5 separate regions of the Homo sapiens genome follow, and all the other regions are linked to region 3. The links are contacts of gene promoters, found by promoter capture Hi-C in blood cells and fetal thymus (Javierre and others, 2016). All regions are on one chromosome and are shown on one strand. Each heading gives the region's core, a stretch centred on a gene start or on the middle of the fragment in contact. The rest is flanking DNA. Distances are from core to core; before and after follow the strand shown. Region 1 overlaps HNRNPD-DT (HNRNPD divergent transcript). Region 2 holds the start of JADE1 (jade family PHD finger 1). Region 3 holds the start of REST (RE1 silencing transcription factor). Region 4 holds the start of SEC31A (SEC31 homolog A, COPII component). Region 5 holds the start of ZCCHC4 (zinc finger CCHC-type containing 4).

Region 1 (2,700 bases), core at 81-2,580, about 25 Mb before region 3:
AAGTGATTCCAGTTTAATTCTCAAACAGACTTCATTTTTGGCCTTTTACAAGTACTTTAGTTTTTGCTGCAGAGAATAATTGCTTTACAAAGGCTAAATTCAATGATGATCTAGCATTTTAGTGTGTTATCTGAAACACACTGGGAATCTCCTAAAGCAATGGAATAGTTCATGTCTGTACATTGACAGGGGATATTCCTTCCTTCTACTGTTTGGGGCAAGTCCAATACAGCATCTCCAGCCACTTAAACAATTAATTGTTACCTATGAATGTGTAACAAAAAGTTTCATTTCATTCTCAAGAAATTTCATACATCCATCACCAGGTCATTTGAAGAAGCGTTTCGTTGTTGTTGTTGTTTTTGAAACAGGCTCTTGCTCTGTCGTCCAGACTGGAATGAAGTGGCATCACTGCTCACTGCAGCCTTGAATTTTTGATTCAAGCAATCTTCCCACCTCAGCCTCCTGAGTAGCTGGAACCACAGGCTCACGCCACCACACCCAGCTAATTTTTTTTTTTTTTGAGACATAGTTTCACTCTGTCACCCAGCTTGAGTACAGTGGTGCAGTCTCTACTCACTGCAACCTCTGCCTTGTGGGTTCATGTAATTTTCCTGCCTCAGCCTCCCCAGTAGCCAGGATTACAGGCGTGCGCCACCACGCCCAGCTTATTTTTGTATCTTCAGTAGAGATGGGGTTTCACCACATTGCCCAGGCTGCTCTCGAACTCCCGGCCTCAAGTGATCCACCCACCTCGGACTCTCAAAGTGTTGGGATTAGAGGCGTAAGCCACCGCACCCGGCAACAGAAACGGGTTAAACACAACCCAAGGCGTCCCTGGGTGGGCAGGAACTGATTTTTTAAATTTTTTGTAGAGATAGGTTTTGCTATGTTGCCGGGGCTGGTCTCAAATTCCTGGCTTGGCCGGGCGCGGTGGCTCACACCTGTAATCCCAGCACTTTGGGAGGCCGAGGCGGGCGGATCACGAGGTCAGGAGATCGAGACCGTCCTGACTAGCACAGTGAAACCCCGTCTCTACTAAAAATACAAAAAAAATTAGCCGGGCGTGGTGGCAGGTGCCTGTTGTCCCAGCTACTTGGGAGACAGGAAGGAGAATGGCGTCAACCCGGGAGTGAGCCGAGATCGCGCCATTGCACCTCCAGCCTGGGCAACAGAGTGAAACTCTGTCTCAAAAAAAAAAAAAAAAAAAAAAAAATTCCTGGGCTCAAGCAATCATCCCTCCTTGGCCTACCAAAGTGTTGGGATTATAGGCATGAGCCACAGCACCTGGCCAAAAGTTTTTTTTTTTTTAATGCCAGAGATGAAATGAGATGGTGTGGAGAGGAGACTTTCAAGTCCCTGGAAGAACACCTAGTTTGCTTGAAAGCCCCTTAATCTAACAAGTTGGACATACTTATTATTTTGTCATTCAATAATTCAACTGGCAATTACATAGTGTGGATATACTGCTGCTGTGTTTATGTGTGTGTGAGAGTGTGTTAGGGAGGGAGAGATACATAGAAGACACTGTTTTCTAAGAACTCATGGTCTAGTAGAAAACAATGAAGAATAACAGAGGTAAAGATAAAGGGCTGTGAAAAGGGATCATTAATTCTGCCTCAGGAAGCCTGGGAAGACTTCACATAAATAGTAACATTTGTTTGTTTTTGAGACAGGGTCTCACTCTGCCTTTCTCACTGCAGCCTCCACCTTCCAGGTTCAAGTGATCCTCCCACTTCAGCCTCAGGAGTAGCTGGAACAACAGGAACCACCATGCCAGGTTAATTTTCTGACTTTTTGTAGAGGCAAGGTCTCACTCCGTTGCCCAGGCTGATGGCCAACTCCTTGAGGCAAGCAATCCTCCCGACTTGGCCTCTCAAAGTGCTGGATTACAGGCGTGAGCCACCACGCCTGCCAGAAGTTAAGTGAGTTCCAAGAAGAATATTGTGTGGATGCAGGAGCACATCCTGGATGTAGAGATCTTGGCCATAATATCAAGGACTATCAGTGATATGGACATCATACATCCTCATAAAGCATGTAAAGGTGTTAGCTTTAAAATCATTCCTAGGTTGTCTGGAACTTTTGACATAAATTCTAAGAATTCCAGAAGCTCCTAAGCTACATGTGAAATCAAAATGAACCTTTTGGAAAAGTCACTATTACCAAAAGGTGGGTATGTCTAATGATATCTTAAGATCAAAATAAATGACAATTACCGTCACTTGAGCCAGAAAAGATTAAACAGACTTCCCTTCAGTCAATCATCTTAGTTGTATCTAACCCGGAATATATGGTTTGAGCACCATATCCACTTTATCCTTTGCTAATATTCTGGCAGGTGGAGACAAATGTGGAGTCACTACCACTTTACGGTAAACATTCTTGGTATTACCTTTATGTGACTTGATTATTACGGGAGTTTGGTAAGATTATATTTTTAGGACGTTTTCAGAATTTGACCTGTATTCTTGAGTTTTAATTATTCTGTAATGTAAATTCTACTAACTTGATTAATAAAACTTACTTATAATCTTCCTTTGAGATTTTTGGATAGTGTCCAATTAATACAAATTCGTTTAACTGCAGTGGAAAATACCTAAACTTTTTTTTTTTTTTTTTTTTTGAGACGGAGTCTCGCTCTGTCGCCCAGGCTGGAGTGCAAGTGGCATGATCTCGACTCCCTGCAATCTCCACCTC
Region 2 (2,700 bases), core at 61-2,560, about 72 Mb before region 3:
GGTACACACTACACGTTCATTTAAGGAAGCAAGGAGACCAAGAGACCCCACCCCCACAATTTGCAGATGGTGCCAAAGGTTGCAATTTGCAATCCCCTTTAAGTTCACGATTAATCGGTACTTTGCTCTACCAACGCCAACTCCTACCCCATTTCATCGATTAAGGGGTTTTACACTTTACAAGCAGTCGCGCTGTAAGTAAAAGATCTGATCACTGGAAGCCCAGTTCGGAAGAATCTAATTGCCAAACTGTCCCTCCACCCCCACCCCCACCCCCCTCTCACTGCCCTTGAATTGATGCAATGAATATTTTGGACATGTGGTGACGCGGTGACAAGAGCCAGGGCTGCGGCCACCACACACAGATGTACCTACGCACACCTATGTTTGGACAAATACAGTCCCACCACACACACGGTCTCACACACTCTGGATTCATATATGTACGCGAACCTGCGTTCTGCCATTGCCATCTGTCTACCAAGTTGCTACTATGCTTTCCACTTTCATGCAGCCTAATGCACTTTGGCTTTCTAAAAAAAAAAAAAAAAAAAAAAAACCTATAAACTAAAGCCAACTTAAACTGGGCTTCTGCTCCTAAACGCGTTTAATTGATGATTCACCTGAAAACCGCATGTTCTTCGCAAATCCAAAAGAAGAAATAGCTCTAAGTCTTCAGCCCCCCAAATTTGAAAAAAAAAATCATAATAAAACTTACTGATCCAACATAGATCAATTCTCAGGATCCAAAAATCATCCTCTCCTCCTCCTCCGGCCCCCGCCCCGGCAATGCCCAAGTTACTGGTGGGATAGTAACGCTGCGCTCAGCGGCTGCCTCCCTCCCTCCTCGCTACAGATCGAGAACCCAATCTTTTGGCGCCATATTAATGACGTATTATATTATTTCCACTAGGCAGCGACCTTCGGCATTAAATTACTCCCGAGAACTCCCGAGCAAAGCAACAAAACCATCAAATATGGCTGAGCCTCTCGGCTCGTCCTGCAGCCGCCGCCGCCGCCGCCGCCGTCGCCGCCGCGGGACCGGGACGCGCACACGGACCCACACGCGGACACGCGCGGACACACGCGCGGCGCGCCCACCCCGCGCGCCCCCCGCGGCCCGCGCGCGTACCTGCTGCGGAGGGGTTCGGCCGAGGCGCTGGGCTGGGCGCCGCTCGCTCGCTCGGAGCTGCATGAGTTCGGGCCGCGGCGGGCGGGGAGCCGGGCGGGCCCCTGCTCTCGCCGGCGCGCACACACCGGGCACTCGCGCACGGAGGCACTCTCGGTCTGGCGTTTGGCTTGTTATGGAGGAAGGACTATGTGAATCAAACTCATTTCTGGGTCACTGCTGCCACAGGGGGGAGCACTTTAATCCCTTGCCAAAACGAGAGGGTGGGGACGGGAGGGCGGAGGGAGCATGCGGGGAGCCCGCGGCGCTGGGGCTCGGTCCCTCGTTAACTCTTCGCAGCCCTAGCCGCAGCCGGCTCAGCCTGCGCCAGTGGGGGCTCGCAAAGAACGGCACTGTTCAGCTCTTAGTCTCTTTCCTTACTTCACCCACCTTGTGAGCCTAGAAATTCTTGAGGTGTCTCCAAGCAAGTGGGTTTTTAAATTAGCCCCTTCAAACTGCTGTCCCAGTTTCAACTCTTGTCTGACATCTAGAAATGGATTCTTTCAGAATAGTTTAAAATTACGTAGATTAAAATATGGCTATTAAGATGTGTCATTTGGGTGAAAGGTTTTATTTTTAGGCTGAGTGGCAAAATAGTTGTTTGTAGTAACAGTTTTAGGGAGTTGCACATTAGGATGACATTTTTAAATAGAGAGAATCCAATTCTGAATAACATCTTTACCTAAATTTGTATGGAAGTGATCATTGCAAATGAGCATTAATTCATTAGAAGATATTATTTATAAATTGACACCACTTTATGTTACACATTACTACAGAATTGGACATCTTCTCCCAAATATGAGGAGTGAGCCTAATGCTAAAACTAGAATTGCAGACTAGTATCAGATCAGTCATCGGAGATTCATTTGGGGGTATTTATGTGTAAAAAGGAGTGGTTACTGATTTTCTGCAGAAGACAAGCTTGCTTTTTCATATAGAGGGCAACATACTTCTTTCATGGATTCATCTAGGGAAATAGAGGGGTATATGACATTCAACTTCAATAAGAAAAAAGTACGGATTAAAAACTCCCATTCAGGCCGGGCGCGGTGGCTCACGCCTGTAATCCCAGCACTTTGGGAGGCCTAGGTGGGCGGATCACCTGAGGTCGGGAGTTCAAGACCAGCCTGACCAACATGGATAAACCCTGTCTCTACTAAAAAATACAAAATTAGCCGGGCATGGTGGTACATGCCTGTAACCCCAGCTACTGGGGAGGCTGAGGCAGGAGAATCGCTTGAACCCGGGAGGTGGAGGTTGTGATGAGCCGATAATGCGCCATTGTGGTCCAGCCTGGGCAATAAGAGCGAAACTCCGTCTCAAATAAATAAATAAATAAATAGGAACAGTGATCACTAATTACAAAATTGAATATCGAACCCAAAAGGCATATGTGTCCACCGGAAGAATCTTTCTGAATATATCAGGTTTGATTTCATGTAATCCCACACCAGCCCAACTACCCACATCCAGACCCACATCCAGAACGTTATAATCTGATAAATGCGACAAAACAAAACTAATTGAGC
Region 3 (2,700 bases), core at 189-2,688:
TCCTAACTGAAATAGGCATTCGGCCATTTTCTCAAAATACCAAACACAAAGCAGCTCTTTGCAAACTCGGGCGCTCTCGCTTCCTCTCGCCTCGGCCCGCTCACTGCACACATTTACACACCAACTCGCGGGAGTCGCCCCGACACTCGTCCTGAGCCTTTTCCTGCGCTCTCCAACACTAAAACGGGGGAGGGGATCAAGCTCGAGGCGCTGTTTGGCCGGAACCAGTCCTCCCCGAGTCCAGGCAGCCCCCTCCCCAGCCCTAGGGCCCCCGTCCCGGGAGAGGACGGAAAGTTACCGCGCAGCCGGCGTCCGGGCTTCTCCGACCGCCCCCGGGCCCCTCCGACCGCCCCGGGGCTCGCCCAACGCCCAGGGCCGGGGAGGCTCCGCGGGCGCCCTCGCGAGGCGTCGGGCTCCGAGCGCCGGAGGGGGCCCCCACACGGGCCAGCCGCCACCCCCGCGCCCCGGAAGTTTGCGAACTTCACTCCCCCACGGCGCCCGGCAGGACGCGCGCCCCAGCCCCGCCAGCTCCAGCGGTCGGGTGGCCGGACGCGGGGGCCAGCGGCGCCGGACGGCTGAAGCGCAGAAATCGCTGTCCAGCCCCGCAGGCGGAACCGCCCGGGCCCCGGGGCTGACTCAACCCGCCCGGCCGCACTCAACGGCGCCTTCCGGCGACAGGGAGAGGCCCTGGGGGAGGGGGCCAGGAGGGCCGCGGGCCGGCGCGGGGCTGCGGTGGGACCCGGGGGCAGGAGGAGGAAGCAGAGGAAGTTTCAGGACTACGGGCCCGAGCAGCTCCGCTCCTTGGCCTCAAAGGACCTGACTCGGTGGAGCGTCCGGGCCAGCGCGGAGGCGGCGTCCCAGCCTCCAGTGGGGAGGGGGTCCAGGCGACGCGCTGCTCCCAACAAACGCCCCCAGCCCCCGGGCGGCTGCTGTGTAACCCGATCCTGCTCGGCCGCCAGCCCCCGCCCGGCGGGGCCGCCGCCGCCGGAGCCACAGTATCTGCAAATCAGCCCTGGACAGCGCCTGACTCCGCGTCCTTCCGCGCCCTCCCCGTCCCGCCACTGCCGCCGCCCGGGCGGCCCTCCCCCACCCTGACCGAGCCCCCAGCCCAGCGCCCCACTTACCGGCCTTCCTCGGTGAGGAGGGGCGGGCGACCCTGAGTCGCCGCTCCTTCTCCGACTACTTTTCTTTGTTGCTGGAGTTTCGGGGGAGAGGTGGGGGAGGGTGGTAAAGTTGGGTGCTGGGGCCGTCGTGGACCAAGAAGGCCCAGGAGTGGGGCTGCAGAGGGTGCTCAGGCCTCCGGGCCTCGCCCTGCCGTCTCGGCTGCGGCAGCCGCCGCCAGGGTCTGGGGCCCCGGGCCTCGGCGGCGCTCGCTCCGCTGCTGCGCCGCGAGCTCGCGGCAGCCGCACATTCCAACACAGGACGCTGCGCCGCGCACCCAGTCCGCGCCGCCGCCGCCGCCACCGCCCGCGGGACACGCCCCCTCCGACGCCCGCGCGCGCCCGCGAGACACGCCCCCTCCGACGCCCGCGCGCGTGGCCGCTAGGCGCGCCCCGCCCCTCTACCAAGCAAGGAGTGCCCCAGTCTCCAGCTCGCCTGGGGGCGCGTCTAGGGGGAGCCGCCCGTAATCCTCCCGGCCCCTCACTCCTGCCCTTAGGTCAGAAAAGAGGCGGGCCCCACTCCCTTTCTCGATTTCTATTACAAACAAACAACAAAAGTTCCCCCCAGCCCTGGCGTGCATGCATGAGAATAGAGCTGTTAAAAGAAGAATCCGCAGGCTTTGACGGGTCTCTTTAGAGCTATTGTCACCGGCCTCTCAAGTCTAAAGCGCTCCAAGATACCCTTCAGATCTCTTCAAGTCTCCACCCATAGCTGTCCTTGACTAATTAAGCTTCGTTTTAAGCGTCTGCGGTAAAAAAAAAAAAAAAAAAAAAAAGTCTTCCAAATTTCAAACTACCGGAGGGGGAATGCAGTCAGTTTGGGAGAAGTGAGAAGAAAACGTTTCAGGAAGGAGGTTATGGACTCAGAAAGCGTGAGCGTGAGGACTGAGGGGACAGATCCCTAGACGTGGCAGGTAGCAGGTCATTGCTGAGCCCGGAAAGCACGACTGCAGGGGAGGAATTACCCTCAGATGACAGAAGAAAAGGTGGTGAGGACGGGGAGGCTGCCTGGGGCCACGGTGTGTCGGAGTAACCGGGCTCACGTCTATGAAGCGGGATAACCAAGCGGAATGCCTAGCCCATAGTCATGTGCTAACAAAAACAAAAACAACAAAAAAGAACAGAGAGAGAGTAATTCCACCCCCTTTCACACCTGAAAGAGCTTCTCAGTCTGCCTTTGATACCTTCCTAAACGTCAGTCGTAAGTCACACCTGTCCTCAGAAGCATAGTGGCTCCCCATGACTACAAGCTTAAAGCTTAAACCCCTTAGTGTGGCGTTCAAGCCCCTACTTAACTTGACCTAGATAAGTCTGACTATTGCTTGGTATTACAACATAAGTAGCAAGTGCTATGGGGGTTTGCCAGTAGGAAGATGGATCCCAAGAGGTTCTAGAAACTTTTCACAGTAGATGTATTCAGTCTGACCTTGGAGAATGAGGAAAACTTCAACAGGTGGAAAGTAGGGCAAGGAACACTCTACACAGTGAAAAGGGCAAGCTCAAAATCCCAAAGCAGTTGTTAAGACATCCCAGCTTCTCC
Region 4 (2,700 bases), core at 14-2,513, about 26 Mb before region 3:
AATGTGGTTAATAATTCCATTACCACAGTACTGAGAAAACTTGCATAAATTTTGCTGCTAGCTCTTTAGTCCACAAATCATTGTGCCCCCCCCCCCAAAAAAAAGATGTGCATCATGATCAGTCGCCAGTTACATTACTTTGCTTTCAAAGTTTGTTGATTTGTTACTGATCATCTGTTTAGTTCATGCACAGATAGCAGAGCACAAAGTGCATAGTACTGTTGCCTCCTTGACCCCAGAGATTAAACTTGTGACCATTTATAAAAATGGATAATTAAAAGAGGTAATTGGTCAACAAAGGACAGAGCAGCAAAGAAAAGTGATAATGCTGGAAGTGAAATTGGATGTGATTAGATTTGAAAGTGGTGACAGCAAAGCAAAGATAGGTTGAGACCCAGACCTGCATGAAGCTGTAATACAAGCCTATTGAAAAAGTCTGATAAATGTAAAAAGGTAAAGTTGCTTCAACGTCTTTCAGTTTTAATTGCACTAGGAACAGAAAGCTGCTTGCGGTTGAAATGGAGCATTTACTTGTTTGAATTGAAGACTAATCAAAAACAAATCCCAATCAGTTTGACTAGCATTCAGGCCAAAGTGATAACCTTAGTTACTGCGTTGAAAGAAAATGGTAATTAGAAGACTGAAAGAGAATATATTACTACCAGTAAAAGTTGGGTTCATTATTTCAGAAGTTGGCGTGAATTGATGTTAAGCTGTCTTATGAAGCTGCAAGCTTCAGATGGAATGTTACAGAAGATGTAGCTGACTGTGGGAATGTTAACACTGCTGCTGTTCAAGGGGCAGGATCCTTCTGCTTTAGCTACCCAAAGTGCAAGAGTTGGCTTTGAATGCTAGATGTAATGAGAAAAGAACTTGTCTAGAAGTTAGGAGATCTGGGTTGAATCCAATTTCTGGTAATTTAGCAAGTGATTTTCCTTTGGCTTCACCTTGCTGTAAAATAATTCCTCCCTAAACTAAAAGTACACTTAGGCAACGCATCTAATTAGATTTGAGGTTGTGGAGAAACAGTGGCAGAAGGTGAGTGCTACCGGGTCTCAATACCATGGGATAGTAACAAGTATGAAACGGTACTAATTGGAATTAATATAACACCCCATCTATACCTCTTTGTCCACAATAGCCTTTGGGAATGCCCAGATTGTTTCACTTTGTATAAGTTCTCAAAACGCCAGAATGTGCAATCAAGTGGGTAATTTTAAGAACTCAGTCACAAATTACAATAAAGCCCTTGCAGCCCGATTTTCCACCTGGTTTGGCGCGGGCAGTGTCGCCAGGGGCTGCCGACGCCTCACAGGACTAGTGCTACGTGGCGTTCCTGCGGGCCACGGCGGTTATTCGGCCAGACGGGGACACCCTCTGCACTAGTCCTTTACCCACTAGTCCTGGCTACCCCATCCACATTCTGCGCGCCGCCCCTCAGAAAAGGGTTTCTACGATCGCCGGGGCGCGATGACCGCAGAGCGCCACCAACCAGCGGAGCCGTACCCCGCCTCCCAGGCTACCGCCGGTCCCGGAAGTGCCGTGGCGGGCTGTGCGTCGGGTGGGCGGGGAAAGATGTCGCTCCCGGAAGTGTTGGGCGCAGGGCGTGGCTGCGGCTGCGGCTGCCACGTTGGAACGGAACGTGGAGGTGGCCCTGGCCGGGGAGGAGGGGCGGCGGCGAATGCTGGGAGAGTCCGACGAGCGCTGCACTAACGCAGGATCCGGCTGCCGAAGGTCCTCGCCAGGTGCGTCCGCCCGTTGCTTTTTGTCCTCTTCGCCGGTCCTTAAGCTTTGAGGTAGAGCCCAGGCCAAAACTGGGACCGCAGCCTGGGTCTCCGCTGCCCCGCACCAGCCTGAGGCCCGGTCTCTGGTGACGGCGCGCCCCTAGTCTTGGTTTCGGGCCCGGCGGAACAACGCCTGGCATCTGGACTCCAGTGATCGCGCCCGTCCGCATTCGCCGACGTCTCCACTGCTGAGCAAAAGCCACCCGAGGCTGGCGACAGTGTCTTGCCGGGGAGTAGTAGCCGGGCTGGTAACTGGAGTTTGAGATTAGGAGACTTTCAGACCCTTGTGCACAAAGAGGTGCGGTCCCCGAGGGTGAGGAGAGGAAAAAAAATCTCAGGATTACTTTGGCTTTGGTTAGGATTTTTTTTTGTACTTGAACTATTGCCAGATTTAAAGGTTCATAGGTTTGAACTGACGTCTACTGTCATTTAACTAGGATTATTTTAAGGACGGTGGTAGCCAGGCGCAGCCTGTACTTTGAGGGCAGTCTCATTAAGTGTTACATGTTTTTGCTAATAAGTTGTTAAATTACGGGGCTGTTGTAAAATAAACCAAAATATTGCCTGGACTTGTGGGCATTATAAATTTTTTCTTGCGCTTAAGGAATTAATTTTACGTAGGGCTATTTGAAGTTGCAGTGATCTGATAGTCTGTGACAAATCCTTTCTCCTAACTTATTTTTTCTAACTATAGAAAACTGAAATTTGGTTGTCTTTGTGGGCAGTTATAACTGTATTTAATCGATAAGGGTGTGTTCTTGTTACAGCGTCCTGCGTTTTCTGTACCTCCGTTTATTCAAGAGTTGGCAAAAGCTTACTCTCCTTTTTTTTTTTTTTTTTTTTTTTTGAGACGGAGTCTCGCTCTGTCACCCAGGCTGGAGTGCAGTGGCGCGATCTCAGCTCACTGCAACCTCCG
Region 5 (2,700 bases), core at 106-2,605, about 32 Mb after region 3:
TCTATCTCTACAGGCTGAACAGGCATAAAACCTCCGAGTTTCTTCTTTCCCTTGGGTCACCTTTACAAACAGAAGAGTGGGTCCTAGTTCCAGAATAGAAAAAAAAAAAAAAAGTGTCAAGTAATGGTCATCTACGTCAAGTTCTTAGTTTTCGCTGCCCTTAAATAAAATTTGTTTGAGCTTTAGGCACAATTTATCATAATTAAATCCATCTCTTTGGTTGGTTGTTTTTTGTTTTGTTAGGGTTTTTTGTTTTGTTTTCTTGAGACAGGGTCTCCCTCTGTCGCCCAGGCTGAAGCGCACTGGCACAATCATGGCTCACTGAGATCCTGCTTCCTAGCCTCAAGCGATTCTCCCGCCTCAGCATCCCGAGTAGCTGGGACTACAGTTGCGTGTCCCCAGCTGTTTTTCTTTTTTTGTAGACGGAGTGTCATCATTTTTGCCCGGGCTAGTCTCAAACTCCTGGGCTCAAGCGATCAGCCCGCCTCGGCCCCCCAAGTGCTGGAACTACAGGTGCACGCCACCACGCCGGCTTCTCTGTGTTTAATGAATGTTTCTTTTCTCTCTGTTACAACATTCCGGCAGTGACTACTTATAAATAATTTTTGAAAACCGGTCTCTTCAGAAAGAAAATGCTATTGTCGGTACAGTTGCTGTCTACGTTGTGAATATTACAAACCTGAGACTAAAACAAGGAAGGGACTCAGAGAATTGAGGACTTTGACATCTCTTGCGCGGTTACCCTTGCAGTGAAAACCTGAGCTTTGAGCTGGAAACGCCCACTTTCTGTAAGTTAGAGAAAAACTGAGTCTAGTTCGCAGGCAAGAATTACACTGTTTTTCTCCCTAATTTTTTATTTTTGAAGGGAGAGCAAATCAACAAATGAAATCCCCAAGTACTTGTCAACGAGAACTATTCAATACCATGCATTCTTCTCTTTGCCTACTTTTCTGCCCCTTCCCCCCAAAAGAGATGAAATAGTCCTGGAGCCAAAACCACAAGAGTGGAGACTTGCTCTGAATGTTTCTCAAGTAAGTTGAAAAACACCGCGTTCCGAGGAAGGAGTATTTTCTAGGCAGCACACTGGTGAGGGAAAGAGGCGGGTAAAAATACAGGAGCCCCAAAAGCCACTTCCAAGCCAACTCACACCCTCAGCGCCCGGCAGTTAGGCTGAGCCCAGACTCTGACCCACCGTGAGGGCACAGCGGGGCGGGGACGGCAGGATCCAAAGGAAGCACCACCTCCATTCCCGAGCTTCCCCGGCACCCTGCGCTGCCCTCTGCCTCCACGGCTTCAAACCCATTCCTGGAGGCCGCCATCTTCCCGCCGCCGTCCCGAAAGCCTCAGTACGAAACAAGAATGCTGAGAAAGAGCGCCCCCGCGACCCAAAGCGACCCACAGCGCCCCCAGGCGCTTAGGAGGAGCTTGGGCGGGGGCTGCCGCGGCGGAGGCCACGCCCCGAAACGCAGTCCCCGCCCACCTGGGGGCTGCACCTAAGCGGCCCCTAGCGGTGGGGCTCGCAGGTCACTTGCGGGACCTGTGCCATGAGCTCAGCGCATGAAGCACCCTCCTTTCTTAAGAATATAGCCAGGAAGTGAGATGATTCGAACAAAGACTTGGTTGTATTGTAGGTCCAAAAGGCAGCATTACCACCTCTGCCAAATAGCTGAAATGGCTGCAGCAGCTGTGATTTAAGGATCATTCTTTGTTTTTCAAAGTCACAGTCACTGCATCATCCTCTGTAACTTTTGGACAATGCTGAAAGTTGCACATCATAGTTGCATACTCATTGACATTTATACATAAGAAAGAAAGAAAACCGTCCTGATTTGCAGATGACATGATTGTCCACATTTTAAAAATCCGAAAGAATCTATCAGGAAAACACCTCCGGTTTAAACTGAGTTCAGCAAGGTTGCAGGATATGAGATAAACACACAAACATCAACTGGATTTCTAAATACTAGCAATGATCACAAGAACACTAAAAAATAGAATACCACTTACAATCACTCAAATAAATGAAATAGGTGTAAATCTAACGAAATATGTACAGAGCTTTATGTATGCTAAAAACTCCAAAATGCTTGATTAAAAAAAATCAAGGCTGAGTGCAGTGGCTCACACCTGTAATCCCAGCACTTTGGGGGGCCAAGGAGGGAGGATTGCTTGAATCCAGGAGTTCGAAACCAGCCCGGGCAACAAAGCGAGACGACATCTCTAAAATAAATAAGCAATTTTTAAAGTTTTTTAAAAATCAAAGAATAGCCGGGCACGGTGGCTCACGCCTATAATCCCAGAATTTTGGGAGGCCAAGGCAGGTGGATCACAAGGTCAGGAGATCGAGACCATCCTGGCTAACACCGTGAAACCCCGTCTCTACTAAAAATACTAAAAATACAAAAACAAAAAAATTAGCCAGGCGTGGTGGCGGGCACCTGTAGTCCCAGCTACTCGGGAGGCTGAGGCAGGAGAATGGCGTGAACCCGGAAGGCGGAGCTTGCAGTGAGCCGAGATTGTGCCACTGCACTCCAGCCTGGGTGACAGAGTGAGACTCCGTCTTAAAAAAAAAAAAAAAAAATCAAAGAATAAACAAATGCAGAAACATACTGCATTCATAAATCAGAAGACTCAACATAGTAAAGATATCAGTTCTCCCCAGGTTTAATGCTTATACAGGTGTAGCACAATTGCTATGAA

What was found. Contacts are between HindIII fragments. The CHiCAGO score rates a contact against its expected background, and 5 or more counts as called.
Region 1: a contact is called between a fragment that was not itself captured here and the fragment with the promoter of REST in region 3, in 1 of 17 cell types (fetal thymus). The highest score is 7.9, in fetal thymus.
Region 2: the fragment with the promoter of JADE1 here is called in contact with the fragment with the promoter of REST in region 3 in 1 of 17 cell types (total B cells); the score reaches 5.5 in total B cells.
Region 4: a contact is called between a fragment that was not itself captured here and the fragment with the promoter of REST in region 3, in 1 of 17 cell types (fetal thymus). The highest score is 14.0, in fetal thymus.
Region 5: the fragment with the promoter of ZCCHC4 here is called in contact with the fragment with the promoter of REST in region 3 in 1 of 17 cell types (total B cells); the score reaches 6.3 in total B cells.

The regions. Positions count from the first base shown.
Region 1 is chr4:82,375,450-82,378,149 of GRCh38, reverse strand. All of the region lies in intron 1 of HNRNPD-DT (HNRNPD divergent transcript), which reads right to left. Among named protein-coding and RNA genes, the nearest start is that of HNRNPD-DT, 2.2 kb to the right of the region's middle. The HindIII fragment of the contact is 3,405 bases long and covers 1-2,700 here.
Region 2 is chr4:128,808,310-128,811,009 of GRCh38, reverse strand. It overlaps JADE1 (jade family PHD finger 1), which reads right to left and starts at 1,310. Exons shown (of 11, transcript NM_199320.4): 1 at 1,133-1,310. RefSeq lists silencers at 378-497, 1,008-1,487 and an enhancer at 798-907. The HindIII fragment of the contact is 6,052 bases long and covers 1-2,094 here.
Region 3 is chr4:56,906,638-56,909,337 of GRCh38, reverse strand. It overlaps REST (RE1 silencing transcription factor), which reads right to left and starts at 1,438. Exons shown (of 4, transcript NM_005612.5): 1 at 1,125-1,438. RefSeq lists enhancers at 1-121, 1,052-1,981 and silencers at 212-1,061, 1,172-1,561, 1,661-1,955. The HindIII fragment of the contact is 2,443 bases long and covers 1-1,893 here.
Region 4 is chr4:82,890,133-82,892,832 of GRCh38, reverse strand. SEC31A (SEC31 homolog A, COPII component) reads left to right here and starts at 1,680. Exons shown (of 27, transcript NM_001077207.4): 1 at 1,680-1,745. The HindIII fragment of the contact is 1,056 bases long and covers 736-1,791 here.
Region 5 is chr4:25,311,429-25,314,128 of GRCh38, reverse strand. It overlaps ZCCHC4 (zinc finger CCHC-type containing 4), which reads right to left and starts at 1,355. Exons shown (of 13, transcript NM_024936.3): 1 at 1,193-1,355; 2 at 1-83. The coding sequence starts at 1,319. RefSeq lists enhancers at 1,237-1,296, 825-1,701 and silencers at 1,295-1,499, 1,507-1,576. The HindIII fragment of the contact is 7,197 bases long and covers 1-2,700 here.